Linked DNA regions of Homo sapiens: all the other regions are linked to region 2. Evidence: promoter capture Hi-C in 16 types of primary human blood cells and fetal thymus (Javierre and others, 2016). All regions are on one chromosome and are shown on one strand. Each heading gives the region's core, a stretch centred on a gene start or on the middle of the fragment in contact. The rest is flanking DNA. Distances are from core to core; before and after follow the strand shown. Region 1 holds the start of NT5C3A (5'-nucleotidase, cytosolic IIIA). Region 2 holds the start of DPY19L1 (dpy-19 like C-mannosyltransferase 1). Region 3 overlaps EEPD1 (endonuclease/exonuclease/phosphatase family domain containing 1). Region 4 has its middle 4.7 kb from the start of MATCAP2. Region 5 overlaps EEPD1 (endonuclease/exonuclease/phosphatase family domain containing 1). Region 6 overlaps ANLN (anillin, actin binding protein).

Region 1 (4,383 bases), core at 1,509-4,008, 2.0 Mb before region 2:
CACGACTCACTGCAGCCTCGACCACCTTGACTGAAGAGATTTCACCTTCGGCCCCTAAGTAGGTGGGACTACACTACAAGTGTGTGCCACTGCACTGGCTAAAATCTTTATTTTCTGTAGAGAAAGGGTCTCCCTATGCCGCCCAGGCTGGTCTCGAACTCCTGGGCTCAAGGGATCCTCCCGCCTCAGCCTCCAAAAGTGCTGGGATTGCAGGCGTGAGCCACTGTACCCTGCCAAAGCAAACCTTTGATGATCCTTTGTTGCAAAATAAAGAGCAAACTCTTTATAATGGCTTTACAAAATTCCTTTACAATTCAGTTTCTTGATCCCATTCCGTATCTTGCTTTCCTTCTTTTTTTTTTTTTTTTTTTTTTTTTTGAGACAGGGTTCTCCCACCTCACCCTCCCAAAGTGCTGGGATTACAGGTGTGAGCCACCATGCCTAGCCATGACTGGCTTCTTCTGTACATTAATCTTGCTGCCCTATGGGATATTTCAGCTGTAGCATACACAACCCACTAGCAACTTCCTCATGTCTCTCAATTAAAAACTCTTGCAAGACAATGCATCATTTTGACCAAGTCCCAGAAGTTATTGGTTTTCTTAGCCAGTTAGATAGGCCCAACTTGGTTAGGTAGTTAACTCCGTTAGCTGTGACCAATATGAGCTATGTCTGTTGGACATCATGGGTTTGCAGAGATTTTTCTGAGGGAGGAGGGCAGAGGATGGGCAGAGCAGACCTACATTATTACAGAAAGATGGAACTAGGATTCCAACCCAGGTCTTCTGACCCCCAGTCAAATACTTCTTCCACTTGAAGAAGCAACCTATTAAAATTAAAAAAGTTAACATGAAGCTCTTTTCACTTTTTCCATTGAAAAGCTACTAGCAGGCTACACATATATTACAATCTGAATTAATATACTATGCATACATGTAAATATTGACTGATTTCTTTAGTACCAATAAGTTGGTATTCTAGATAGGTCTTCATTATTTGTCACAAAGATAGCAAACTGTTCCTATGATGGTATCATTGAAGGATTTTGTGAACACACTGATTTTTAACCTTACTTGGCTTAGATAAGTGGTATACAGACCAATCCATAGTTTAAGCACAGGCAGGGAGATATGGCAACTCGGTTTTTTCCCCTACATAGGCATTATTAACCTTGGGCAAAAGAAAGCCAAGTTTTCTAAGCAGGAAAGCAACAAAAGCAAAATGAAACTTCTGAGTTAAAACCATTTGCTGCTGTGGGCATACAGATGTGGGACAAATGAATTTTAATAAGCCTTTAGAATTATTAAGACCCTTTAAGAATAAATTAATTCAAAATTAGGGAATATTATTGGAATATGAGACAAGTGGGAATTAACTTTTTTTTTTAAGAGACAGGGTCTCGCTATGTTTCCCAGGCTGGAGTGCAGTAGCTATCCACAGGTGTGATTATAACCTTGAACTCCCAGACTCCAGTGATCTTCCTCTCAGCCTCCCAAATAGCTGGGACACTGGCTAATTTTAATTATGCAAATACATCTGTATTCAACCTGGGGTCAGTACAACCAATAGGACAAATCGTGTCTTTCGTCAGTTGGAACATATTGCAGGTGCTCAGAAATTCCAAGTATTACACCCTAAAATGATATTATTTAGTGTAGATTTTAAATTTTTTTCTATCATAAATCATCTGACCCTAGATGTTCACATGTATAGCACACGGTCAGGCGTATACCCAGGATTATGCATTTCAGGAAATACATAAGCGTGCAAGTTTGTGCAAGAATTGTCTTCCTGAGTGGGTTCTAATTAAAATACAAAACGAAACTAAATATCCTCATTTTTGAAACAATTACTTATAATGTATCTCAAAGGGAATTCTTGAGACACCCTCTTCAATAAAAAATTAAATTCGAAAATGTATACAAGAGCTTTGGGAGTTAAGATGAAAACAAAGATATTTCGTGGGAGTTTTGAGACAAGAAGGAATACATTCAAATACAAAATAAACTATCCTGAATTTCTCCTGGATTGCCATTCTTGTAAAATTTTAGATATTGCACATTTTCATAATCTAACTCACGGCAGCCCCAACATAAAACTAGTCCTCTGCGGGAATTGCAACTAGATTAGCGGCAACGGTTTGACGCGGATCCGGGGGGAGGGCGGGAGCAAGGCAGGGAGAGAAGGAGCCACCTGCCCAGGACATGCAGCTTATCTCTAGAGAAACGGGTTTTGCAGCACAAAGTAGCCTGTGTCCGATTCATCTATTTTCTGCCTTGTTCCTTCAAACGGAAACCTAACAAAGACCACGGGCAGCCAAGGGCCGCAGCCGGGGACCCAACCCTGGTCACCAAGCCCGCGGAGTGGCCGCACGCGGGGCGGCCGGGTCCCCCAAGCTGCGCGTCCCGAGCTAGCGAGATCCCAGCCTGACAGGCGACGCCGGCAGCTCCCCGTCGCGACCGAACAGCGGCCCAGCACAGGCTGCCGAGGCCAGCGGACGGCCCAGCCGGCCCCTCGCGTGCTCTGGGCGCGCCGAGCCTCCACACTCACCATCTCGATGATCTTGGTCTTCCGCCCCGTCTTCCTCTTCAAGGTGAATATGTACTGAGCCAGCACCACCCCCGCCACCAGGGCGCACACGCTGGCGCTCGCTACCGCGCCCACCCTCGCCACGGCCGCGCGGTCCATGGACGGGGCCCTCATGCGCGTCCAAGCAGGAAAAAAACAGGCAGCTCGCGTAGACTGCGAGTCTCGGAAGCGCGGGATCCCAGAGCATCACGGACGAGCCCGCGACGCCCCGCCCCGCGCAGCGACGCCCCGCCCCGCGCAGCTCCGCCCCCACGAAGCCCCACCCACACGCCATCGATGGGAGAGGCCAGGACGCGGCGGGAGGGGTGTGGCCTGTGCCCGGAGCCCAGGCTGGAGGCGGCCTTCAGCAGACTCAGGGTCTCACGAGCTGCTGTCAGGGCAGGGCAGAGTATTGCGGTAATTATCCTTCTCTGCTAATGAGGATTAGGCCGTGGTTCGCTCGAGCCCCGCCCCAGTAGAAATCTAATTCCAACTGCGGCCCGCTAAGAAGTCGGTCTCCGCCTTCGCGCCTCAGCCCCTCTGGACTCCGACCCCCAGAAGGCTGCGCGGCACGGTGTGACCTGCGCAGTGGCGTCCGTTCTAAGTGCTATAACAACAGGGGGAAGATGGCTCAGAGTTAGGCTGGAGAGGGGCGGTGTCCCTTCCGCCGCAGCCGCGGGGTTTCTGCTACATCCCATTCGCCACCTCCGCCATCCTTTTTTCTGTGTGAGCAGAAGGGCTTGCAGTTGTTCTCTCCTGCCTAGTGTCTTCCAAGGGATAGATGCCATTTCTTCTGCTGGTCTCTGGGGGTGAGGAGGGGCGCAGGGGAGCTTCTTGGGGGAATCGCTCCAACTCTGTGGAGCTGGTGGTGCTGCCTGGTGGGGCTCTCTCTGCCCAGGACGTGGAACAACTTTCAGCCGGAGGACTAGAGGAAATAGTTGTAGGGGAGGAAAAATTGTTTCCTTCTAGCCTTTTAGGTCATTTGGCTGGTCTACAAATTAAATTGATGTAAGACAGAGGAACATGAGAAAAACGATTTGTCGACCGAAAGGTGAAATAACAGGTACTAAAACTTAAAGAAATCATGGTTAGTTTTATTACTCGGCCAAGTTTGAGGACTTAAGCCTGGGAACACAGACTCAGTATAGACCGAGAACGTGTCCCAAAGTAAGTTAGCTGGGAGTATAACCTGAAGAAGACTGAGTTTTAATACCCAGAATATTTGAGTATCAATATCTAGACTACTGTGTCATTTTGTCGCCAAAGTAATTTTTTATGAATCCAGTTTTGCACCAAATACCAATATGACTTAAATGTTGTCTGATTGTGAGGCCTAAGATGGTCACAGTCTCATTTATCTTTCTTCCTCAACAAAAACATTTTCCATATATTACATATTATTTTGAATGGGTAGAGACTAAAGCCACGTTTCTATAATTTCAGGATTTTAAACATTTTGTAGACGATAACATTCGTCTTGAAGCTGTGGACAATCTAAAACAGAAATGGAGTTCCAAATTTTGTTTTTGTAATATGGCCCGTCAACTGCACATGGGAAGAATGTGGGTACTCTGAAATATGATTTCTATTTTAACTAGTTATACTATATCATAGGTCTGATTATCATCTATATGAGATGTTAAAGCTGTAGGAGTATAGTCAATTAGACTACAAACCCTGGTAGTAAATTTCCAGGAGGAAAGGGGTCCATATGTTTTTTATAAGTGTAAACCTTGTGTTTCTGAATCTAAGAGGGTTGGCCATGTTTGGAGACTATTTCAGCTTCTATGTGAATTAACATATTAATTATTCTTG
Region 2 (4,673 bases), core at 554-3,053:
TGATCCTTAACAGATCCTGTGGATCCCTGTGGAGTAAATTCGCCATGTGATAACCCCCCACTAGCAGAGAACGAAAGACTCACAAAGGAACCTGAAACTTAAACCAAACTGAACCGCTGTGTACTAGATCTGAAGGCTCTGCCTCATCCACTGTATCGTGCTGCCTCCCCAAGGTGAGCTTTTCTAACCTGCATACTAGCCAGCTTTTCAAGCTTGCTACTGAGATAAAAAAAAAGGGGGCGGGGGGAAATGTGCTGGAAACAGACAAACAAACAAACAAAGAAAAACAAACTTGGTTTTTCTAGGCTTGAATCGGCAATGGGGGGAAAAAAAGTACCCTAGGAACAACCTTCTTGAGCCCATTAAAACATACAGAGATGACTGGCTTTTTATGACTGAGTGGCTTTTATTTGTGGCTGTGATCTCAGGGGAAGCCAATTTGCTGTGTCCTATTCCTTGACTTATACTGGACCCCAACTCCTGGCTAAGGGAACTTTGAGTCACCAAGGGAATCTGAAAATATACTAAGGGATAAATCAACAGTAATTAAATAGTTCAGTAGCGAAAAGCCCACTGAGGCATATAGAAAAAAGCAATGTAACAGCATTTCACTAGTTGACTTAGAAAAATTAGGCCTGTTATCCAAACTGCTACAACTTGCCTTATCAAAATTCAACCAGGAAACAGAGGAAACCTGAAGTCAGTCCGAAACATACGAATGCGTCAACTTTGTTTTTTTTTTTCAGCACATCATTACACATCATCCATTTGGTAAATGGCAGAGGGAGGGGAGGAGAGCCCTCCTCACCAAAGGTTCCAAGGGCAGCAGGGAGGATTAAGGCTCGGGCGCCCCAAACACAACACAACCTAGAAAGTGACGTGTCGAGGGGAATCACAAATAAAGTGCCACCAGCGGCGTTTGCGGCCAGGAAGAAAAAAGTACGCTAAAATTTAATTATAAGTTTAAGCAACTCTCTACGACATGGAACGTGCGTTTGCTTTGAGCTCCACGGAATCGTTTCCAAGCCAAAGCAAACCATCCTGGCGGTCAGAGGCCGAGATAACGGGAAGGCGGCCAGTCGTACCAATCAGCAGCGCTCAAGTCTCGTTAGCGCAGACCTGCTGCCCGCGGCCAGGCCGGGCAGCTGTTGATCCCCGGGCCATTCTTTTAAAGCCCAGGCAGAGCGCGGGTGGGAAGCGTGCGAGGAGAGCTGAGCCAGGGAGTTGCGGGGAGGAGAAGGTAAGAATGTCCCAGAGAAAAAGTCGGAGAGGGCTGCAAACTGGCTGGTCCGGCTGGCGGGGCTCGGCGCGGCGGAAGCGGGAGGAGAGGGGAAGGAAGGGGAGGGGAGGGGAGGGGAGGGGGCCAGCGCCTCAAAGTTCCGCGTCCCGGCGGCGCCGGCGCTAGGGCTGCTCACCTAACAGGAGCGTGGTCCAGGTCCGGCCGCGCCCCGCGCGCCGCAGGCCCAGCGCCCAGCGCAGCCGGGCGGCCAGGCGCCCCCCAAGGCCGCCCCCGGCGGGCGGCGCGCCGGGCTCGGCGCGGGGCCCCTTCCTGCCCGCGGCGCCCTTGCGCCCCGGGGACAGGGGCGCGCGCTCGGGCCCCGGCTCCCCGGCGCCGACGTCCGACGCCCCCCTCAGCGGCGACTGTGAGGCGCGGGGTGGCTGGGGCGGCTTGGGAGCCGCCTCCCGGTGCTTGTTCCGCGCCTGCAGGACCATCTTGGCATAGTCGCGCCCGCTCGCTGCGCGCGCCCGGACGGCGGCCAGAGAACGGCGGGCTGGCTGGGCGGCTGGGCGCAGCTCACTCTCCAGCGGGCGGGCGGGCGGAGGGTGGAGGGCGGGCTCGTCCCTCCCCGCGGGCCGGGAGGCGGGGAGATCGTGGAGGCCGGGCGGCTGCTGCCTGGCTGGCAGTACCGCCGGGAGGCGGCGCCGGACTTGCTAGCCCGCCGCCGTTGCCGCCGCTCCGGTTGTCACGGCGACCGCGGAACGCCGGGGGGCGGGGGCGGGGACACCCTGCGAGCGGCCGCGGCCCCGCCCCCGCCGCCCCTCTGCGCCGGACGCGCGCTCCAGGCCGGCCAGCGCGCACGCGCGGACTTCCGGCGCAGGCGGGGCCCGACCCCTCTGGCGCCCGGCTACCCACACCTCTTCGGCGCCCGCGCGGGGCTCGGCCGGTGCGAGGACGCGGGGGCGGACGGCCTTCCGGAGGCGGCCGCCCTTCCATTGTGGGAGTGATGGGGCCGAAGGAAGAGCCCTCTCGGGATCGGGGCGCTGATTCAAGTTTCGGAGCCTGTTAAGGCTGCGCTTGGAGCCCGCGCAGGCGAGACGCGGCGGGGCAGGGAGAAGGCGCCCGGAGCGGCCACTTAGGGGCGCTGTGCGTGCGCCCTGGGCGCCTGGTCGGCCCCACCGATGTGAAGCGCGCGGGTGGCAATCAAGTCACCGTCTCCGTTTACTCCCCGCAGTGTGGTCGCGCAACTTGGAGCGCAGCCCCTCACTCACCGACAAGAAGAACGGGTGCGACCCGATTTAAGATAGTAACAGAGTATTAAAATAGCAGCCTGGAATCTCATGGGGAGCTGATAAGGGACGAGGCACAAGTGTAAACTGAAGACCAGGGTAGGAGCCAGGCTGAAGGTGATAGGATGGATTGGCTGGAGCAGGAAAGATCATCAATAAGTACATTCAGTTTGTTACACTTGCTGTAACCTTGTTGCTTAATAGGAAGCAGGAAAACTTGGCGTTGATAAGATAGGAGATTTTAGTCGAAAATATGTTTTCTTTTACATAGCAGAATGCACGAGTAAATTAAACCCGGGAAAATTTAGAAACCCAGGTAGATCCCAATTCTCCCTCCACCCCTGCATTCTTTGCACACAGTCTTACAACAGCATGGATTACAACTGGGAGGTTCCTTTCCTGGCCGTGCCCAGTGGCTTGTTCCAAAAAGTTGTCTTTAAGTCCCAATGTTGTAAATCAAGGCCCATCGTTCTGCTTATCTCTATTGTAATTCCAGGGACTTCACGTGGCTTTCTCGCTCTTTGTTTCTTTGCCCAGTGATTTCTTTACTAATACCAGCATTCGTTCATTGTTAGCCTTTTTAAGAGACAGTGGATTATTTTGTAAAGGGAGGGTGTTTGCCATGCTAATTAATACTCCCTCATACCCTGTCTAGTTTATGAATTTGGATTTTCCAATGTCTTTATTGGAGCAAAGAACAACTATTTTTATACACTGGTTTAAAAAATAATGGTTGAAAGTAGGATGCAGAAGGCTTGGATTCTGAAACATTGTGTCAGCTGAACTCAATGCTACCTCTGGGATTAATGTTGAATGTATTCAGTTAAAAGAAAGCTAATTCAATGCCTATTAAAGATAATACGAATAACTGGCCGGGCACCGTGGCTCACGCCTGTAATCCCAACACTCTGGGAGGCCGAGGCGGGCAGATCACGAGGCCAAGAGTTCAAGACCAGCCTGGCCAAGATGGTGAACCTCTGTTTCTAATAAAAATACAAAAATTAGCCAGGCGTGGTAGCAGGCGCCTGTAGTCCCAGCTACTTGGGAGGCTGAGGCAGAAGAATCGCCTGAACCCGGGAGGCGGAGGTTGCAGTGAGCTGAGATACGCCACTGCACTCCAGCCTGGGCGACAGAGCGAGACTCCATCTCAAAAAAATAAATAAATAAAAATAATACAAATGATGGATTTTTTTTAATGATTAGAAAGACGCATGGAAAAAGAGGTTCAACATTTGAATTATTAGATTGCTGTGTGTCTACTTTATGTGATAGGCCCTGAATTCAGGAACTGCCTCCCTTAAGCTGGTACCGTTTGTACCAGGAAAACACTTGTTGAATGAGTGAGTGAATGAATGCAGTTCCACAAGTGCTTGTCAGTTCCCCTTCTCGGCTTGGCAACCATGCGGAGAGGGGCAGTGTGAGGTATTAGTTTTTTGGTTTTTTTGTTTTGTTTGTTTTTTTCTTAAACACGGTCAATTTAGATCCAGTTTGCAGCCACTACATTGACCCATACCAGCCTTGACCAAGGTATTATACCTCTTTGAGTCTGGATTTCTTCATTCTTAAAATGGAGGCAACAAAAACATCTAGTTCACAGGTTTGTAAAAAATAAGACAATGTGTGTAAAGCATCTAACAATTACATATATCCAAGTAGTTGCTCAGTGAATGTTCAAATTGTCTGGATGTTGGTAGTTGCTCAATAAGTGTTCAAAGTAGTGGATGACGTTTAAGGAGAGTGGCAAACTTCTGTCCTCCCAGAACCTGAAGTTGACATTCCAAGTTGGGGTATAGCAAGGGGAGAATGCCACTCTGAGCGGGAGAGCAAGAACAGCCACGTGATCTTTAAGCCAGGCCTGCTGGGCTTCAAGCTTCTCAGCTCTCTGGGCAGTTGATGTGCCTGAATGGTTTCCTGCTTTCCACAGATGCTTTACAAATGTTGCCCATCTCATGGGTCCTTAGGCCTGGATAAAATAGTAGGCAACTCCTCGTGCCCCCTCCCAAAAGGGAGGCATTTCACACAGGAAGGGTGGAGGAATGGAAACCAGAACAGTCATGGAAGATTATGTGCCAGATTTCATTTTATCCTTAGTACAACGAGATCCACAAGAGCAGAGAATGGGAATGCAGTTAATTTCTATATGTATCTGTAGACCAGTGCCTGCC
Region 3 (4,105 bases), core at 1,606-4,105, 1.2 Mb after region 2:
CCCCATTCCAGGTCAGGGTGTCAAGGCCATTGGAAAACAACATGAGGTTGCAGGGAGACCCGAGTTCCATCCACCAAAACCTCTCGGCCTCAATTCCTTCATCTGTAAAATGGGAGCGATAGCCCTTTCTTAGCTCACCTATAGGGTGGCTATAGGATTTTAAAAGATACTATGCATTGGAATGCATCATGAACGTAGCGCAGGCCAGGGCCAGGCGGAACGGGCATGAGGTGGCAGGCTGGCCGCCTGCAGTGGACTGAGAGAGCTCATGCCTGGCTCTGGCTGCTGCTGGGTCCATGTCTACCCAGTTGTTACCCTGCAGTATTGTGGGCCCAATGTGGCCAAACCTCCCAGTTTCATTTTAATGGGAAATTTCCTGAATTTTAAAGATGAACAGATAATCCAAAAAAATTTAAACACTATGTGAATCAAACAGAATATATCTGCAGGTTGAAAATGTTCAATCTCTGTCCCTAGACAAACATAAGAAAGTGGGCCATTTCTCCGATGCCTGAAATTCTGCCCCAGGCATCTTCTCCCCAGCTCCCTAGGGCTTACACGATAGCCAGAGGGGTGGTTTCCAGCTGTGAAGGTGAAGACCTAGTAAGATGAAATGATTTGCCCACAAGCCACCCTTTTGCAATGTGAGGTGCTCGGACCTGAGCCCAGTTCACTCTCTCTGTCTGGAAACCCTGTTCCTCCGGCTGCTGTTCTGGAGGAGAGGGGAGCGCCTAGGTCAGGGGCATTGGGAAAGGCTCCCAGGAGGGGCAAGAAACCAGCGGTGGAAGGAGCAGCACGCAGGGAAGTGGGGGTGGGGAAAACAGTGCTGAGCAGGTGAGGGAGGCAGAGGAAGGAGTAGGCCCCACCGCAGAGGCTTCCCCTCCAGGGCCATCGGGGAGCCCCTGAAGGCTTTTGGGCGGAAGATGACTCGAGTGATGCTTTAGGTAAGTTACTCTGGCACCATGACTTGGGAAATGGCAGATGGAGAGATAATCCTCCAAAGCCAGCAGGGCAGTCATACCTCCCTCCAAACCAGAGGAAGCTGAGGTTTAGAAAAACTGAGTGGGTCGCCCAGGGTCCCGCGGCTAAGTGACTCAGGTGGGACTGAGGCCCAGGTCTTCTCGTTCTCAAACCAGCACACTCTCCAGGGGGTGGGCAAGGAGATAATTTCAAATATAGAAGTGCACAGCATACAATACATTCATTCCCTCCCTCCCTCCTCCTAAAAACACGCATGTTCAGACAAGGCATGTGGCTTAGACCAGAGCTGACCTTGGGGACTTTGTGGTGGCTGCTCAGGAGGGTGGTTGTGCAGAGTCACTTCCCCTCCTTTTGCAATGGGGAAGAGTGGTGATGAGCACTGCTGGCCTCTCAAATGACATGCAGATGGCTCCCAGGCAGCGGGTGCTGAGGAAGCATTCTCATGGACAGCAGAGGCTGTGGTGGGGTAGAAAGGAGAAGTGTGTCTTCTTCCACAAGCCCCCAGTGGCGGCGGCAGCAGCGCAAAGCAGGCATATTCAGAGCAGCAGGGTTTAACACTAGGCACTAGGACTCTGCCCCACCGCCAGCCCTGGCACCTCTGACCTAAGCTTCACACCTCTGCCATGGCCCCATCCACCTGCGGAGGGCCCTCGAGCAGCCCCAAGCCATTAGGTCAACTGCGACCTCCACTCACCCAGAAAACACTGAGTGGGCTCTTACTAGGTGCCAGGCACCATTTTTGTAAGCTGCAGCTAATCAGTAAGCAAAACCCATCCCTTGGAGTTATATGTTTTAGTCTCAGCATTGTGATCAGCTGTGGGATTTCAGGAAAGTCACTTAACCTCTTTGAGCAGCAGTGTCCTCATCTGGGAAATGGAAGCATGAATTGCTACCTCATGGGATGTGATGATTCTGAAGATATCTCTGTGCCTAGCCGGGGCTTCACCCACCTCCCCCCAAAGACAGAAGAGCCCAGGCCACCCTGTCTGTATGGAAAGCTCTGAAATTGGCAATATGTGAAATTATTTGGGCTGGGGAAGGGCAAGGGAGAGTGGCTGTGGCTTTCGTGGTGTGCTTTTGGTTTAGAAACAGCTTGAGCCAGAGTAGGGCCTACTGCCTCTCGGTCTCTCTGGCCTCTCTGCCTCCTTTCCCCAGGTGGCGCTAGGGCTCTGGCACCAAGACTCTGTCTCCCTCTCCGCTGCAGGGAGCTGGGTATGCAGGATTCCTATGGGACGCGGCTGCCGGCATGGAGCTGAGAGACGCGGGTTCACAGGAGAGCTCGCCAAGCAACGGGCACGGGAAGCTGGCGGGCCCCAGCCCATACCTCGGGAGGTTCAAGGTACCCGCTCCACGCCGTCTGTGACGTGGAATCTGCTTCTTTCTAAAAAGGAAAGAAAAGGGCTCATTTTGTAATAGCATGAGTAAGAGAAGTCTCGTCTTTTTGCCTTGATTTCAGCCTCTCATGATTGGAGATTTTTGTCTCTCCTGGGGCTTCCTTGGCAGGTGAACTTGTCCAGGGCAGGAATGAAAGGGATTTTGAGACAGCCCCAGTAACTCTGGCATCTGAGCAGGAGAGGGGGGAAGGAGGGAGATTTGGTATAGCTCCTAAACCTGACCCTCATTAGAGTCTCCTGGGGAGATTTTCCTACAGTCAGGGATTCCTAGACCCCACCTCAGACATACAGAATTTGGGGGATTATCCGGATGGCCTACTTTCCAAAAGCCCCTTCAGTGATCCTTCACCTTCCTGGCACTGGTTCACAAGGCCAGGTGTTAGGGAATGGCTGGATTCAAGGGCAGCAGAACTGGCCTGAGGAGCCCCTTCTTATCGGCTGCATCTCAGGCCCGATTCCTTTATTACCAGGGAGAAAGGCCTCTCAAGGGGTGGTTTGGGTTTGGAGGGGATTCAGGAGGAGCTCTGGGCTGTGGGCCAGGGGCAGTCCTGTCACTGGCATCGCCCATGTGGGAATCTCTGTCCCCCCAGCATCTGGGAGCAGCTCAGCAGATTGATCGAGCGCAGTCTCTCTGGTTCTCCCCGGATGCCCTTGGGAAGTGTTAATGAACCGCAAAATGGTCAGCAGCTGGACAGCAGAAGCCAAAGCAGGTCATGAAGTTGGCAGTCAGTGAGCCTTATCCCCGTGGTCCTTGACCATGAGCTCACAGGCCAGGCAAGCAGGTCCGGTGCCTTGGAGCTCAGCAAGCGTATCCCCTCCTGGGCATGGAGACCCCCTGCTTTCTGTGTGCTCCAGAGCAGTTCTTGAACCTGACAGTCACCTCAAACCCCAGCCCAGGGAGTATCTGCCAGCTGAGGGTTGGGAGCAGCCCCTGTGTTGAGGCTACAAGGCCCTGTGCCACCTTGCACACTGTGAGTTGATGAGGGTGGGTGTGTGCTCACCCTGGGGGTATCTGTCACACCCAGCAGCCCCTCTCATTCCTCTGTCTGTGATATTGATGGGGCTCTGTCTGCACATGTACACCTGGGGGTGTCCATGGGTTGTATCTGTGGTACTGACGTGTAAGTCAGCCAGGTATCACCTTTAAGCCTCCTAACACCACCCTGGGCCCTTTTTTTATGTCAAGTTCCTGTTCCAGTGTTGGCCACCTGGGGTTATGGCCATGTAACCCTATGGGTGATACTGATAATCCAGTATTACCACAACGCAGGCTGTTTTTAAGGGTATAATGAGAAAATGCTGGTTAGCCCAAATCCTCTAAATAAAGCAGCCCCCTAAACAGGCACTTGGCCTCTTGTACTTCATGTCACATTATAGGCCTGGCAGTTGGTGCAGTACAGAGATGGGGCTCATCTCCTCAGGCACTGTGCCCCCCACCCAGCCTTAAGATGCTTTCTCTAGCAGGCAGAGCTGCAGCTGCAGAGCTCTTGGTCCTGGTTGCTGGCAAACTGGGACCACATCCGTAAGATAAGACGGGCACCCTCCACTTCCTGGGGGCTTCCCCTATACCCCTTCCCTTCCTGGCAGTGTTGATGTTGGTTGCCATGACAAATGGAAGGGCAAGATTGCTAAGCCCTGAGCAGCTGAGCAGTGCTGTGATGCCCAGAGACAAACTCTGACCCTGTGTTTCTGCACTTGCCCTTGGGGATGCAGGGCTAGGGCATGTCCTA
Region 4 (4,667 bases), core at 296-2,795, 1.3 Mb after region 2:
TTCCACAGGTATTTATTTATATAGAAGACACTGGGCTTGGTGTTTTTGGAGTACATAACAAAAGATGATACCTATCCTCAAGGACAGTCCTGACTAGCAGGGAAGATTTTCTATAAAATACATATATGTGTGTATATATATATACATGTATACATACATATAAAAATTAGAAAATGATGTGCATTCTAATTTCAACACTTCACTACAATTAAGAATTCCAAAAATAAACAAATTTGATGCCTCTGTAGTTAGCCTACCTGGAATATTATATCATTCTTTACTTTTATAATTATTTTTATGTTCACCCTACCAATATTTTCTTGTGGATAATTTTTAAATATCTTTAGTGATAAGCACCATATAAAGGTATTTATAATGTAATCAAAACATTTAAAAAATATATCTCTGTGTATTATTGAAGCACTCTTGCTAACAAATTCATGAATACAAAGAGTTTATCTAACTTCTTATAAAACTTGTACTGTTACCAGCTCCTTTTACTATTCCCATCTATGCAATTATTCATCCTCATCAAGCTTTCTGCATCTGCTTTGTTAATTACTGATTCGTGCTATGCCTGCTTAGTGTTTCCATTGGGTTCAGCATCTGCAGCTGTCCAGTTGGCTGCTTTTGAGTCAGCATTGTTTTTACATATCCACAAGAACAATGAACAATCTCATCTTTCTGAGAAACTTTCCTTTATACCTGTTTCTATATTAACCATTAATATTGAGACAAGATGATCGACTTAATTATATTACTGCTCCATTTTTAGGGCACTGATTTCAAGATCAAGTTAGGAATTTGTTAAAACTGCTTTTGTTTTTTATTTTTATTTATTTATTTTTCCTTTTGAGATGGAGTTTCGCTCTTTTTTTTGCTCAGGCTGGAGTACAGTGGCGCAATCTTGGCTCACTGCAACCTCTGCCTCCTGGGTTCAAGTGATTCTCCTGCCTCAGCCTCCCAAGTAGCTGGGATTACAGGCATGCGCCACCACACCCGGCTAATTTTGTATTTTTAGTAGAGACAGGGTTTTACCATGTTGGCCAGGCTGGTCTCGAACTCCTGACCTCAGGTGATCCACCCACCTTGGCCTCACAAAGTGCTAGGATTATAGGCGTGAGCCACCACGCCTCGCCATTAAAACTGATTTTAATAATTTATGTTTATCTTTAAGGATGTCCTTCACCCTTTTTAAAGTTTTATTAAACTTAAATTTTTCAATAATAACCAAAAATGCCATTGCAGTTGTCTTACTGAGATATACTCACTTTCCTTTTATGGTCATCTTTATGAATTCTAGAAGCATTGTATTGTGGAACATTTTGATTAATGAATATCTGTAAGGATGATTTCCATTTAATTTTAGATTTAAAATAATAGAAAAATAGGTGTTTTGATAGAAATATTGTTATTTTATTTGTAGCAGGATTGTTATGTTATAGGTAAAGAACGTATTTATTTTATTTCATTTTTTGTTTTGGGACAGGGTCTCACTCTGTTGCCCAGGTTGGAGTGCAATGGCATGATCATGGTTCACTGGAGCTTCAACCTCCCAGGCTCAGGTAATCCTCTTACCTAAGCCTCAGCCTCCCAAGTAGCTGGGACTACAGGCATGTGCCACCAGGCCAGGCGAATTTTTTGTATTTTTTTGTAGAGATGGGGTTTTGCCATGTTGCCAGGCTGGTTTTGAACTCCTGGACTCAAGCAATCTGCCTGCCTCCGCCTCCCAAAATGCTAGGATTACAGATGTGAGCCAGTATTTTTTTATTTTGTCAGTAACTTGTTTAACTACTCATGTTAATCTCTATATTCTTCTTACATAGTAGAACAGATGTTGACAAATGTTTATTTACTATTCATAAGTTGATGGAGTTTTGGTATTAAAAAAAGTAAGTTAAACCATCTGTGTAATAAAAGAAGATCATTTTCTTTTTTGAAAAAAAGATCAACATCCTGCTTGTTAAAGACTCAGGAGAAGTTTGATCATTTACCTTGATAGGGGATAGAGGCTAGTAAAGACCAAGAAAGAGGAAGAGAGAGATGGTAAAGCATGGACAAGGCTGCCAGAAAGTGTTGCTACTGGAAGAAAAGTATATTATTTCACTTTGGTTTTTTTTGTGTTTTGTTTTTTCCAGAGACAGGGTCTCACTCTGTTGCCCAGGCTGGAGTGCAGTGGCGCGATCATAACTCCTGGGCTCAAGCGATCCTCCCACCCTGGCCTTCCAAGTAGCTGGGACCACAGGCACTTTTTATAGAAATGGGGTCTTGCTTTGTTGCCCAGGCTGGTCTCAAATTCCTGGCCTCAAGCAATCCTCCCTCTGTAGCCTCTCAAAGTGCTGGGATTAAAGGTGTCAGCCACCATGCCCAGTCTGTAATACTTCACTTTCTATAGCAGAAGTTCAGTTTTTTGAGAGCATATCATGCTTGCAACTGAAAAAAAAAAAGTTTAATTTCTTAAAAAGAGGTTTTTATCTTATTAACACAAAAAGAATTAGAACATTATATTTACTTACTTGTAAGTTTCAGATGAGAAACTTAAAAAATGGGGAGGGAAGCTTCTGCAGCCTACCATTATAAAAGAACAGAGCAACTCTAGTTGCAATACCTCAGATTCTGATAAGCATTACCAGACGCCTCAGGGCAAACTGTGAACATTGTTTCTTGATTCATAAAAGAGGAGGAAAAAAAAAGAAATCTAGGAAATAGTTGGTAGAATTGGTTTTTCCTTGGCTTTAAAAAAAATTTCAGCGAAGTTTGAATGCTTTCAGGATGTCTATATCAAGAGAATGGAATGTTTTGCAGCATGTCTATATTCAGGAGAATGAAAAGCGTTAAGTAGAAGCCAAATAAAAGAATGCTTTGTGAAACGCCTCTGCCTTTTTACCTCAATGAAAATAGAACAGCACAAAAACCCTGGGGAACACTGTGATTTTACATGTGTGTAAATGATGTTTTTAATGTTTGTTGGAAATGATTAAGGGAGGAAGGATGTTTTTTAATCAGCCAAAAAGATACTGCTCTTTATTATATTTTGGAGAAACCAAGATGTGCATTAACTTACTCCTTCCACAGATATTTAAGTTCCTATTATATACAAGGTAAAAAGATGATGAAAAAGATATGAAACCTACCTTCAAAGAACTTACTGATGGTATGTACATACATATGTAAAAATGATGGCTGGGCATGGTGGCTCACGCCTGTAATCCCAACACTTTGGGAGGCCAAGGTGGGCGGATCACCTGAGGTCAGAAGTTCGAGACCATCCTGGCCAACATGGTAAAACCCTGTCTGTACTAAAAATTCAAAAATTAGCCAGGTGTGGTGGTGCATGCCTGTAGTCCCAGCTACTCGGGAGGCTGAGCCAGGAGGATTGCTTGAATCCCAGGGGCGGAGGTTGCAGTGAGCCAAGATGGTGCCACTGCACTCCAGCCTGGGCAACAGAGCAAGACTTCATCTAAAAAAAAAAAAAAAAAAAAGAGGGCAATAAAAATGATGTACATGCATCAATCAGTCCTTTAGCACATATGACAGGGATGCTGGGGTAAGTAAATCAGAGTCCCAGTTCTCATAGAACTTATACTGGGAGAAAAAAACAACAACCAAGTTAACAAATGATATAATTTCAGATACAGATAGGTGCTATGAAGCACGGCAAATCGGTAAAGTATGCTAGATGGTAGGTAACTTGGAGTGATCAGGAAAGGCCTCTGAGAAAGTACCTTTGAGCTAAGACTTGAAGAACAAATGTCAGCCACTTGAAGAATAAGAGTCGGAATTTTTAGGGGACAAGCGATCTAGGCAAAGGAATTGCAAAGCCAAAAGGCCTGAGATAAGAATAATTTGGCTGATCCTGGACCCACATGAAGGTCAGTATGATTGAAGTCTAGTAAGCTGGGGGAAAGCGGGTAGGAAAAGAGAGGTAGGCAGGGGCCAGGGAAGGGAGTTTAGACTTTATTCTTTATTTTTTAAAAATTTTTTGTAGAGATGGGGGTCTCACTATGTTGCCTAGACTAGTCTGGGACTCTTGGCCTCAAGCAGTCCTCCCCCACTACCTCCCAAAGTGCCATTATTACAGGAGTGAGCTACCACACCCAGCCTAGTTTCAATATTATTCCAAGTGCAATCAGAAGCAACTGGAGGATTTTTTTCTTTTTAGAGATGGAGTCTCGCTCTGTTGCCCAGGCTGGAGTGCAGTGGCACGATCTCAGCTCACTGCAACTTCCATCTCCCAGGTTCAAGCGATTCTCCTGCCTCAGCCTCCCGAGTAGCTGGGACTACAGGTGCCAGCTAATTTTTTGTATTTTTTAGTAAAGACAGGGTTTCACCTTGTTAGCCAGGATGGTCTTGATCTCCTGACCTCATGATCCACCTGCCTCAGCCTCCCAAAGTACTGGGATTACAGGCGTGAGCCACCATGCCTGGCCATTTTATTTTATATATATATGTTTTTGAGACACAGTCTCACTCTGTCACCCAGGCTGAGTGTAGTGGTGAGATCACAGCTCACTGCAGCCTCCACCTACTGGGCTGAAGTGATCCTCCCACCTCAGACTCCTGAGTAGCTGGAGGTACAGGCATGAGCCACCATGCAAGGCTAACTTTTTTTTTTTTTTGTAGAGACAAGGTCTCACTATGTTGCCCAGGCTGGTTTTGAACTCTTG
Region 5 (4,408 bases), core at 568-3,067, 1.1 Mb after region 2:
GCTCTGGGGACTTTAGGTGACTATTTCTATCAGGAGAGGTTCGCATACATTCAGTTCAACATTGAGCAGCTACTTTGTGCTTACTACCTGATGAGGTCAGAGGCATGGGCGCAGGAAGACCCCACTTTGTGGTCGGGGGCTCACCGTCTCAAGGACATACACATTCAGCAGGTATTTCCAGGATGATGTGTGGGATGAGGGAGGATGTGAAGCTTGCTAAGAGACCTGAGAGCACAGGGACTTGGTCGCTGTCTGCTTGGCTCTGCAGGTATGTGAGACCTCAGCATTCGGTCAGGGATGAAGGGAAAGGACCAAGTCAGGTGGATGGGTGGTTGGAGTCTGAGAGGAAGGAGTGTAGTGGCATAGTGACAATTGAGGCTGAAAGTCAGCATCCACCCTCCCCCATGCACACACACGGCTGAGGAGGGGGAGGTCCGGGCCCTCCACTGAGGCTTATGATCCAAAATACTCAGACAGGAACATGGCAGCCTCCCACACAAGGCTCCTCACAGTGAGAGAATCCGGTATACAAATGCCAAGCTTATAAGCAGGAAGGTGTGTGTCATTTTAATTTCAAAATGACCTTCCCCAGCCTGGGAAACATAGCAAGACCCTATTGCTACAGAAACTTTAAAAATTAGCTGAGTGGGGTAGTGCGTGCCTGTAGTCCCAGCTACTCAGAAGGCCCAGAAATTCAAGGTTGTGGTGAACTGTGATCATGCCATTGTTCTCCAGCCTCAGTGACAGAGTGAGACCCTGTCTCTCTCAAAAAAAAAAAAAAAAAAATTACTCTACCTTACAAAGGATTTTATCCCAGAATTCCCTAATAACAATCAGTGTCAGTAACAAATAAAATGATAGATTTTACTGAAATTCTATTTGCTCATCATGGACATCCTGGTTTGTGTGTGGTAATTTATACCTGGGTAGAATTTCACACTGATGACTTCTCATATCATAACATCCAGGAAATGCCACAAAAATGTCCTGCTCTACCTGACAGGCTGTTAGTCCTCATCAAATATTTAGGAATCTTAGCAGCTTCCTCACCCTCCTTCTCATGAGTGTTGTACACATGCCAAAGTTCTTATGTAATGTCTTGATTGACAGCAGCCAAATTGCTGAACTCAAGTGGCTGGGAACCCTGGAGAGGTGTGCTCAGAGTAAACATTTCATTATAAAGGGAAGTGTGGAATCCTTCTTGCAGACTCTTGAATAAAGAAAGCCTGGGTTGGCTGGGCACGGTGGCTCACACCTGTAATCCCAACTTTGGGAGGCCAAGGTGGGTGGATCACTTGAGCCCAGGAGTTCGAGACTAGCCTGGGCAACATGGTGAAATCCCATCTCTACAAAAAATACAAAAATTACCCAAGGTTGGTGGTGCACACCCATAGTCCCAGCTACTCAGGAGGCTGATGTGGGAGGTTAGCTTGAGCCTGGGAAGTGGAGGTTGCAGTGAGCTGAGATTGTGCCACTGCACTCCAGCCTGAGCACAGAGCGAGACCCTGTCTTAAAAAAAAAGAAAAGAAAGAAAAAAAGAAAAACCTGGATTTTCTTTACTGACTACAATTCCCCAACTAATATTGATTTGTTGTTTGTTTCCAACGAGCCCTTGTTTCCTGTGAATTCTATTTTGGTTCAGCCGTTACCTGATTAAGCTGTTAAGCTGGGCCTTAAATTGTTTTACCTAGAGGCTGCTGTATACTCCTGAAATGCAGTGCTTAAGCGACAGTACGTTGTTCCCATTGCCACATTTAAGGTTGCACATGCTTTGGATGTTCTACGGATCTGAAGTCTTGTTTGCTCACCCCAAAACTGGAGAATAAAACTAGTACTTTGTCTTTTTCAGCTTATGCTAAAAGTGGGAGGTCTCAGGTGGGTTGTTGTTTTTTAAAAAATATCTATCCAATATCCTGTTTAAAAAAAACACTTCTCTAGAGTATATTTTCTGTTAAGCAAATTCAGTCTAATTTTTTTTTTAGCAGTTTATGTTTCTTGAATGGGAAAAAGCCAATATTTGGGTGACATTAGGCCTTGGTCTTAACTGCCAGTGGTCTCAGGGCTCCTTCCTTCCTTTCTTGGTGGGCAGCCTCTGTGGCTTCAGATTATTGTGTTGTTTTATGGGTAGGTTTTTTTTTTTCCTTTTCAAAGTGATTCCCAATCTTTTAAAGTTTTAATTTGAGGACTCATTTCAGATAGCAAAATACTTCATGTCCCTCTACTCTCCCTTACTCGATGGTGTACTTTTAGTGTCCACTTGGTGGTAGAGGTTGTGCTAGAACAAAAACAATGATAATTAACACTGACAGTTGCTGTGGCTGAGGGCCATAGCTAAGTTACAGATACAGAAGAGATGGCTCAGCGAAGCTGAGAAATTTTACTGCTTTCAGAGGGTGGAACTTGGTTTATAATCCAAAGTCTTTGCAGTTAGACTCCAAAGTTTGATGATAAAAAGCTCTTCTGTTCAGGCTGGGCGCGGTGGCTCATGCCTGTAATCCCAGCACTTTGGGAGGCCGAGGCGGGCGGATCATGAGGTCAGGAGATCGAGACCATCTTGGCTAACACAGTGAAACCCTGTCTCTACTAAAAATAAAAAAATTAGCCAGGCGTGGTGGCGGGCACCTGTAGTCCCAGCTACTCGGAAGGCTGAGGCAGGAGAATGGTGTGGACCTGGGAGGTGGAGCTTGCAGTGAGCCGAGATCATGCCACTGCACCCCAGCCTGGGGGACAGAGCAAGACTCCATCTCAGGAAGAAAAAAAAAAAAAAAAAAGCTATTCTGTTCAGTAATGCTTCTCAGAGTAGTTGTATTTCATTCATCACCCAGACTGCATTCTAGGCTAGATGCTTTCTTAACCAGCTTGGCTTGGGTTCCCTAGGTTATGATTTTTCGTAAGTATACTGATATATAATGATATCATCATGTGTCTACGAACATATGTATTTGTCTTAGTGTTTGTCTTTTCAAAGTGGAGCAAGGATATTTGCAAAGCAAACTGATTGCAGGATACTATATTTTTTATGACTTTTCTGTCTTTTATAATTGTCTTAACCACACTTATTTTGACAGCAATTTCTTAAACAACTTGCTTTTTAAGAAGCTTTTCAAGTATCCATCTTCGTTTTCTTAGAAACAACTTATCTTTCTGCTCATGCTTCTATTTCACCAGTTGACAACCACATTTTAGGAGATCATGGTAATATGTGCAACTGACATAAACAGTTTAAGGACAGGCACAGTTGACTCTCTGGTAAGCACATGATGCCCTACTCACAGCTGATCAAGCCAAGTGTACTCATTGCACCATGGGCATCCATCAACTTGTTTTACAAAGGGAATGGGGACACTTTGGTAGGTCCCTTGAGTGGAGGTTGGTTAGGATAACATCTATTATGTTTTTTAAAAAGGTTACTGTTGTACCCATGTTGTTTATTTAAGCTAAATTCAGTGTTTGTTCTACATGTTTATTGTAGACCCCAACAGGTAACTGCAGGTGGTTACTGACCTACCATTCTTTCCTCTAGGAGATTGACTGAAAAAGTCAATCTCTGGAGAAGACAGTCAAGCACTGAGTAATATTTTGGTCAATGATAGATGGTGTATATGTTCCCAGAAGATTATAATGGAACTGGAAAATTCCTGTTGCCTGGTGACATCTTCATGATCCTGATCCCATGTAAGCCTAGGATAATGTGTGTGTGTCTTAGTTTTTAACAAAAAAGTTTAAGAAGTAAGAAAGAAATATATTTAACAGTAGCAAAAACTTATAAAGGATATAAAGAAAGAAAATGTTTTTATACAGTTGTACTATGAGTTTTAAGCTATGTTATTACAAAAGTCAAAAGATTAAAAAATTTAAAAGTTTATAAAGTCAAAATGTTACAGTAAGCTAAGGGTAATTTATTAGTGAAGAAAGAAAAAACTTTTAATTTAGTGTAGCCTAAGTGCACAGTGTTTATTAAATCTACAGTAGTGTACAGTCATGTCCTGGACCTTCACATTCTTTCACCACTCACCCACTCACTCAGAGCAACGTCCAGTCCTGCAAGATCCATTCATGGCAAGTGCCCTACACAGTTGTACCATATTTTAGATTGTATACTGTATTTGTACTGTACTTCTTCTATGTTTAAATACCATAGTGTTGCAATTGTCTACAGTCTTCAGTACAATAACATACCATGTAGGTTTATAGCCTAGGAGTAGGCTCTAGCATCTAGGTCTGTGAAAGTCCACTCTGTGAAGTTTGCACAATGATGAAATCGCCTAATGATCCATTTCCTTTTTTTTTTTTTTTTTTTTTTTTTTTTGACAGAGCCTTGCTCTGTCACCCAGGCTGGAGTGCAATGGAGCAATCTCAGCTCACTGCAACCTCTGCCTCCCGGGTTCAAGCGATTCTCCTTCCTCAG
Region 6 (4,152 bases), core at 539-3,038, 1.4 Mb after region 2:
GTGCAGTTACATGCATCCCATGTTCACTTTGGGATGAAGACTTAACGTGGAAATACATTACAGTTGGGCCCTATATGTCAAAAGGTGAGGTGGGGACATGAAGGCATTCAAGTGAGCAGCCTCTGTAAACTGGCCAGAATCAGTTCATGGTTGGTGGTCTTCTTACTGAGATAGATTTATTGAAATCAATCTCTTGTCCAATTAAAGCTGTAGCTGTAGCTTGTGGAGCAGGAGGGTTAGTCAGTGTCTGATGGAAGATGAGCTGCAATTGTTTTAATATTTATTGCTTATCTCAAGGTCAGTGCTTGTTCAGCTACTAGAGTAAAAGAAAAACTTTGGCAGTTAGAAGATAGTTTATTTTTTAAGTGTAGGGAGTTTGTGACTTAACCCTTGCCTGGCATGGCCTTAGGTCCTAGTTATTTGTTTACAGACAGGGTCTCACTCTGTTACCCAGGCTGGAGTGCAGTAGCGATCACAGCTCACTGCAGCCTTGAACTCCTGGGCTGAAGTAATCCTTTTGCTTCAGCCACCCCACCCCCCAGGTAGCTGGGACTACAGATGTGCCCCACCATGCCTGGCTAACTTTTGTATGTTTTGCAGAGACAGGATCTTGCTTTGTTGCCTAGGCTTGATCCTGTTTATAATTTGATATCTTATTGCTACAAAGAGTCTTCTGTCAGTCTTATGATCTCTATTTAACATTAATGCTCATCAGTTATTGTGTTTAAACAGCAAAAGGAGGGGTATAACAAGGTGCATGCGGCCTCCTGTTCCATCATGGCTGAGAACTCGGTTTTTAAGGTTTCTCTGGGGTCCCCTTCATCAAGAGGGGATCTGTTCAGTTGGTTGGGAGGATTAGTATTTTATTTTTAGTTCTCATATTGTATCATGGGGGGAAATTATCGGACATATATGGATTTGTGAAACAATATGCTTATTCTTGAATTTGTTGAAGGACTTTTATTTAGCGGGTGAAGGTCTTGTATTTTGGAAGCCATTTGGTTCATAAATTATTTTTTCAGTGATTAGAGCATTTCAATTTAGTGTCACTTTTTTCAATGAACTTTAAATTAGAAATCATTCTTAAGAAGAGTAGAGAGTGTGCCTTCTTTCAAATTTAGCTCATATTTCTTTTACATACTCAGATTTTTAAAAAATTGTTACTGTATTTTAAGGAATTAAAAAGAGTCAAATGGAATTTAATTTTTCAGCCTGCACTAACTACTGTATCTGAGTATGCAAGGCAGTAATAATAATCTGCATACCTCCTTTAGTTGTGTGCATTTGAAAGAAAATGAATTGTTTTACAGGGTCTTGTGTTTGAGCTTTACTAAAATTGACTTAAAAATAGGAACATCAGTTGATTTGGAGTAGAAAGGAGTATTCATGACTTTATGGAATGGCTAAGATTTCAATTTAAAACCATTTTATTATATGTTAATATTTAGTTAAATAAAACATAAGATTATTTTGTTTTTCTTTCCTCTTAGGAAGTGTTTTATGTTTTCAAAGGACTAATATGTTATTTATCTCTTGCTGCTTACCACCACCCCAGATTTTAGTGGCTCTATTAGTTTTGCTGCTGTAACAAGTTATCACAAATTTAGTGGCCTAAAATAACATATTCATTATTTTACAGTTCTTTAGAGACAGGGTCTCACTCTGAAATCTGAAATGGATTTTACTGTGTTAAAATCAACATGTCAGTGGAATTGTGTTTCTTCTGGAGGCTGTAGGGGAGAATCTGTTTCCTAACTTTTCTTGTTTCTAAAGGCCATCTGTATTTCTTGGCTTGTCCTGTTCCCCCATCTTCAAAGCCAAAAATCACATTACTCTGACCTCTGCTTCCATGGTCATATTTTCCCTGACTCTGATCTTCCTGCCTCTGTGTTTTCCATCATAAGGACCTTTGTGATTATGTTGGGCCTGACCAGATAATTCAGGATTATCTCCATCTAAAGATTCTTAATCACATCAGTAAAGTCTCTTTTGCTCTGTAAGGCAACATATTCAGAGGTTTAGGGTATTAGGACAAAAAATCTTTGAGGGACCATTATTTTGCCTACCATAGTGGCTTAAAACAATACTCTTATTTCTCATGATTCAGTGGGTCAACAATTTGTATTGTGCTCAGCCGGGCTGTTCTTCTGCTTGTCTCTGCAGTGGTCATGCAGGAATCTTCAGTGATCTGGCAGATTATCTGGAGCTGGATGGTCTAAGGTGGCCTTATTCATATGTTTGGTAGTTGATACTGACCATCACCTGGGCCATGTGTCTCCTCTAGTAGACTTAACCTGGGCATGTTCACTTAGTGGCAGAGAGAGAGAGAGACCCCAAACTGTAAAATCTCTTGATGCCTAAAAGTCTCACAATATCACTTGTACCATATTTTATTGGTCAAAGCAGATCACAAGGCCAGCCCAGATTCAAGGGTGAAGAAATAGATTCTGTCTTTTGATGAAAGCAGAAAAAATTTGTGGCCGTTAAAAATCTTATATAACTAACTTTACATATTTTATTCCTTCTGTAATATTCCTGTAATAGTTATGACATTGGGGTACTCATTTAGTGAATCTTGACATAATTGCTTAGGATTTCACTTTTGAAATGTGTTTAACTGTCATCCTGTATGGCAATTGGTGATTTTAGAAGATACTGCAATTTTATGAACCTTTGATTAAACTTGTGTTTTAACACTGATATATTTATTTATGTAGAAACTGCTGGAGCGAACCCGTGCCAGGCGAGAGAATCTTCAGAGAAAAATGGCTGAGAGGCCCACAGCAGCTCCAAGGTCTATGACTCATGCTAAGCGAGCTAGACAGCCACTTTCAGAAGCAAGTAACCAGCAGCCCCTCTCTGGTGGTGAAGGTAAAAGACTTTGTGGGGAAAAATAACATTTACTTTTTTTTTCTTTTGAAGGAGACAAGCCCCAAACATTTCATTAGCATATAGAAGAACCAAGCTCTTTGGGAGACAAATGTAACAGCCTCTGGGGGAAATAACAGCCTTCTATTCTATTTCAGAGTTATTATATTAGGCCTAGAACCTATAGGGTTGGAACGGTTTCTTCTAAAAAATATTTTAAATTAATTGATTGAACTTTATTTTCTTCATTCTGAAGTTATCCTTAAAACCTCAAGGGAAGAAAAATAAAGGAGTAGGGTAACATTTATACTTACAGTAGTGTGTAGTTTTTTTATCCCAGGGGTGGCAGAACAGCTGGCCACTGAGTTTGGGTGGTGTCTCCGGTACCAGCAAGGCAATGGAAGGCACACTGCCCATGCTTGACATTTAATGAACCCTTTTCACTCTCTATTTGCTGAACCAACTCTCTAAAGTTTAGGTTGTTAATCTCCAGAAGTGGTGGAATTAAACACAAGCACACACACACATACACACAAACAAAAACTCACCTGTAGTCTTACTCTTTCCTCAATCCTAGGATTGATTCCCAGCCAGCATCAGACAGCCTCCTTAGTCTTTTCCTGGAGTGTAGAATAGTCTGGAGATAATAATCTTCCTTAGTACGACTGTAAAATACTGTAATACAACTGTAAAATAAAATATAGAAAAAATTACAGAGGGCAAAACCAATGTTTTTTTAAAAAAAAAGAAAGCAGAGAAGTGTACATGGGGCTAGCTCAGTTATTTTGGAAGCTAATCATAGAACAAGAATTAGTTTTCATACGTTTATCCATTTTGAAGGGAGAGTGAAGGAAATACATTACATATTATATGGTATTCAGCCAGGAAAATAGGGGCCTGACCCTAGTCCAGGATCTTCGTTTTCACTGTGAGATGGGTTTGTACTATTGAGTGCTATGTATTTGAAACCAGTGTTACCTAAACTTCTTTAGGTAGAAGTTCAAAACTACATTTCGATGTTTAGGTAGAAGTTCACATTTACTGTTTTAGATAATTGTAAACTAGAAGAATTCTGTATTTCCAGATGGTATTGCATGTTAAAGCAGGAACACTTTCAAAAATTATTAGATGTGTTCATAGAAAATAGATCGATAAGTGAGTTATAAAACATTAGAAAGTTTCAAAAATAAAAAAAGGAAAAGAAAAGAAAAAAGAGCCAAGTGTAGTGGCTCACGCCTGTAATCCCAACACTTTGAGAGACTGAGGTGGGCAGATTGCTTGAGC

The links. The method cuts DNA at HindIII sites, captures the fragments that hold promoters and counts their contacts. A CHiCAGO score of 5 or more calls a contact.
Region 1: the fragment with the promoter of NT5C3A here is called in contact with the fragment with the promoter of DPY19L1 in region 2 in 1 of 17 cell types (total CD4 T cells); the score reaches 7.0 in total CD4 T cells.
Region 3: a fragment that was not itself captured here is called in contact with the fragment with the promoter of DPY19L1 in region 2 in 3 of 17 cell types (total CD8 T cells, activated CD4 T cells and non-activated CD4 T cells); the score reaches 5.7 in total CD8 T cells.
Region 4: a contact is called between a fragment that was not itself captured here and the fragment with the promoter of DPY19L1 in region 2, in 1 of 17 cell types (total B cells). The highest score is 6.2, in total B cells.
Region 5: a contact is called between a fragment that was not itself captured here and the fragment with the promoter of DPY19L1 in region 2, in 2 of 17 cell types (naive CD8 T cells and total CD8 T cells). The highest score is 5.9, in naive CD8 T cells.
Region 6: a contact is called between a fragment that was not itself captured here and the fragment with the promoter of DPY19L1 in region 2, in 1 of 17 cell types (total B cells). The highest score is 5.5, in total B cells.

Annotation. Positions count from the first base shown.
Region 1 is chr7:33,060,018-33,064,400 of GRCh38, forward strand. NT5C3A (5'-nucleotidase, cytosolic IIIA) reads right to left here and starts at 2,759. Exons shown (of 9, transcript NM_001002010.5): 1 at 2,551-2,759. The coding sequence starts at 2,688. It overlaps LOC124901610 (a long non-coding RNA gene), which reads left to right and starts at 3,168. Exons shown (of 4, transcript XR_007060279.1): 1 at 3,168-3,631; 2 at 4,012-4,130. RefSeq lists silencers at 2,394-2,453, 2,754-2,873 and an enhancer at 3,114-3,273. The HindIII fragment of the contact is 6,622 bases long and covers 1-4,383 here.
Region 2 is chr7:35,035,682-35,040,354 of GRCh38, forward strand. DPY19L1 (dpy-19 like C-mannosyltransferase 1) reads right to left here and starts at 1,804. Exons shown (of 22, transcript NM_001366673.1): 1 at 1,416-1,804. The coding sequence starts at 1,713. It overlaps LOC105375228 (a long non-coding RNA gene), which reads left to right and starts at 1,105. Exons shown (of 3, transcript XR_001745162.3): 1 at 1,105-1,240. RefSeq lists silencers at 1,494-1,663, 1,694-2,363 and an enhancer at 2,414-2,643. The HindIII fragment of the contact is 4,166 bases long and covers 211-4,376 here.
Region 3 is chr7:36,282,501-36,286,605 of GRCh38, forward strand. EEPD1 (endonuclease/exonuclease/phosphatase family domain containing 1) reads left to right here. Exons shown (of 8, transcript NM_030636.3): 5 at 2,186-2,320. Among named protein-coding and RNA genes, the nearest start is that of MATCAP2, 83 kb to the right of the region's middle. The HindIII fragment of the contact is 2,536 bases long and covers 1,588-4,105 here.
Region 4 is chr7:36,369,642-36,374,308 of GRCh38, forward strand. It overlaps a transcript of MATCAP2 not described here. Among named protein-coding and RNA genes, the nearest start is that of MATCAP2, 4.7 kb to the left of the region's middle. The HindIII fragment of the contact is 2,022 bases long and covers 535-2,556 here.
Region 5 is chr7:36,161,131-36,165,538 of GRCh38, forward strand. The region is part of intron 2 of EEPD1 (endonuclease/exonuclease/phosphatase family domain containing 1); the gene reads left to right. Among named protein-coding and RNA genes, the nearest start is that of EEPD1, 10 kb to the left of the region's middle. The HindIII fragment of the contact is 2,559 bases long and covers 539-3,097 here.
Region 6 is chr7:36,393,549-36,397,700 of GRCh38, forward strand. ANLN (anillin, actin binding protein) reads left to right here. Exons shown (of 24, transcript NM_018685.5): 2 at 2,718-2,871. Among named protein-coding and RNA genes, the nearest start is that of ANLN, 5.8 kb to the left of the region's middle. The HindIII fragment of the contact is 5,776 bases long and covers 1-4,152 here.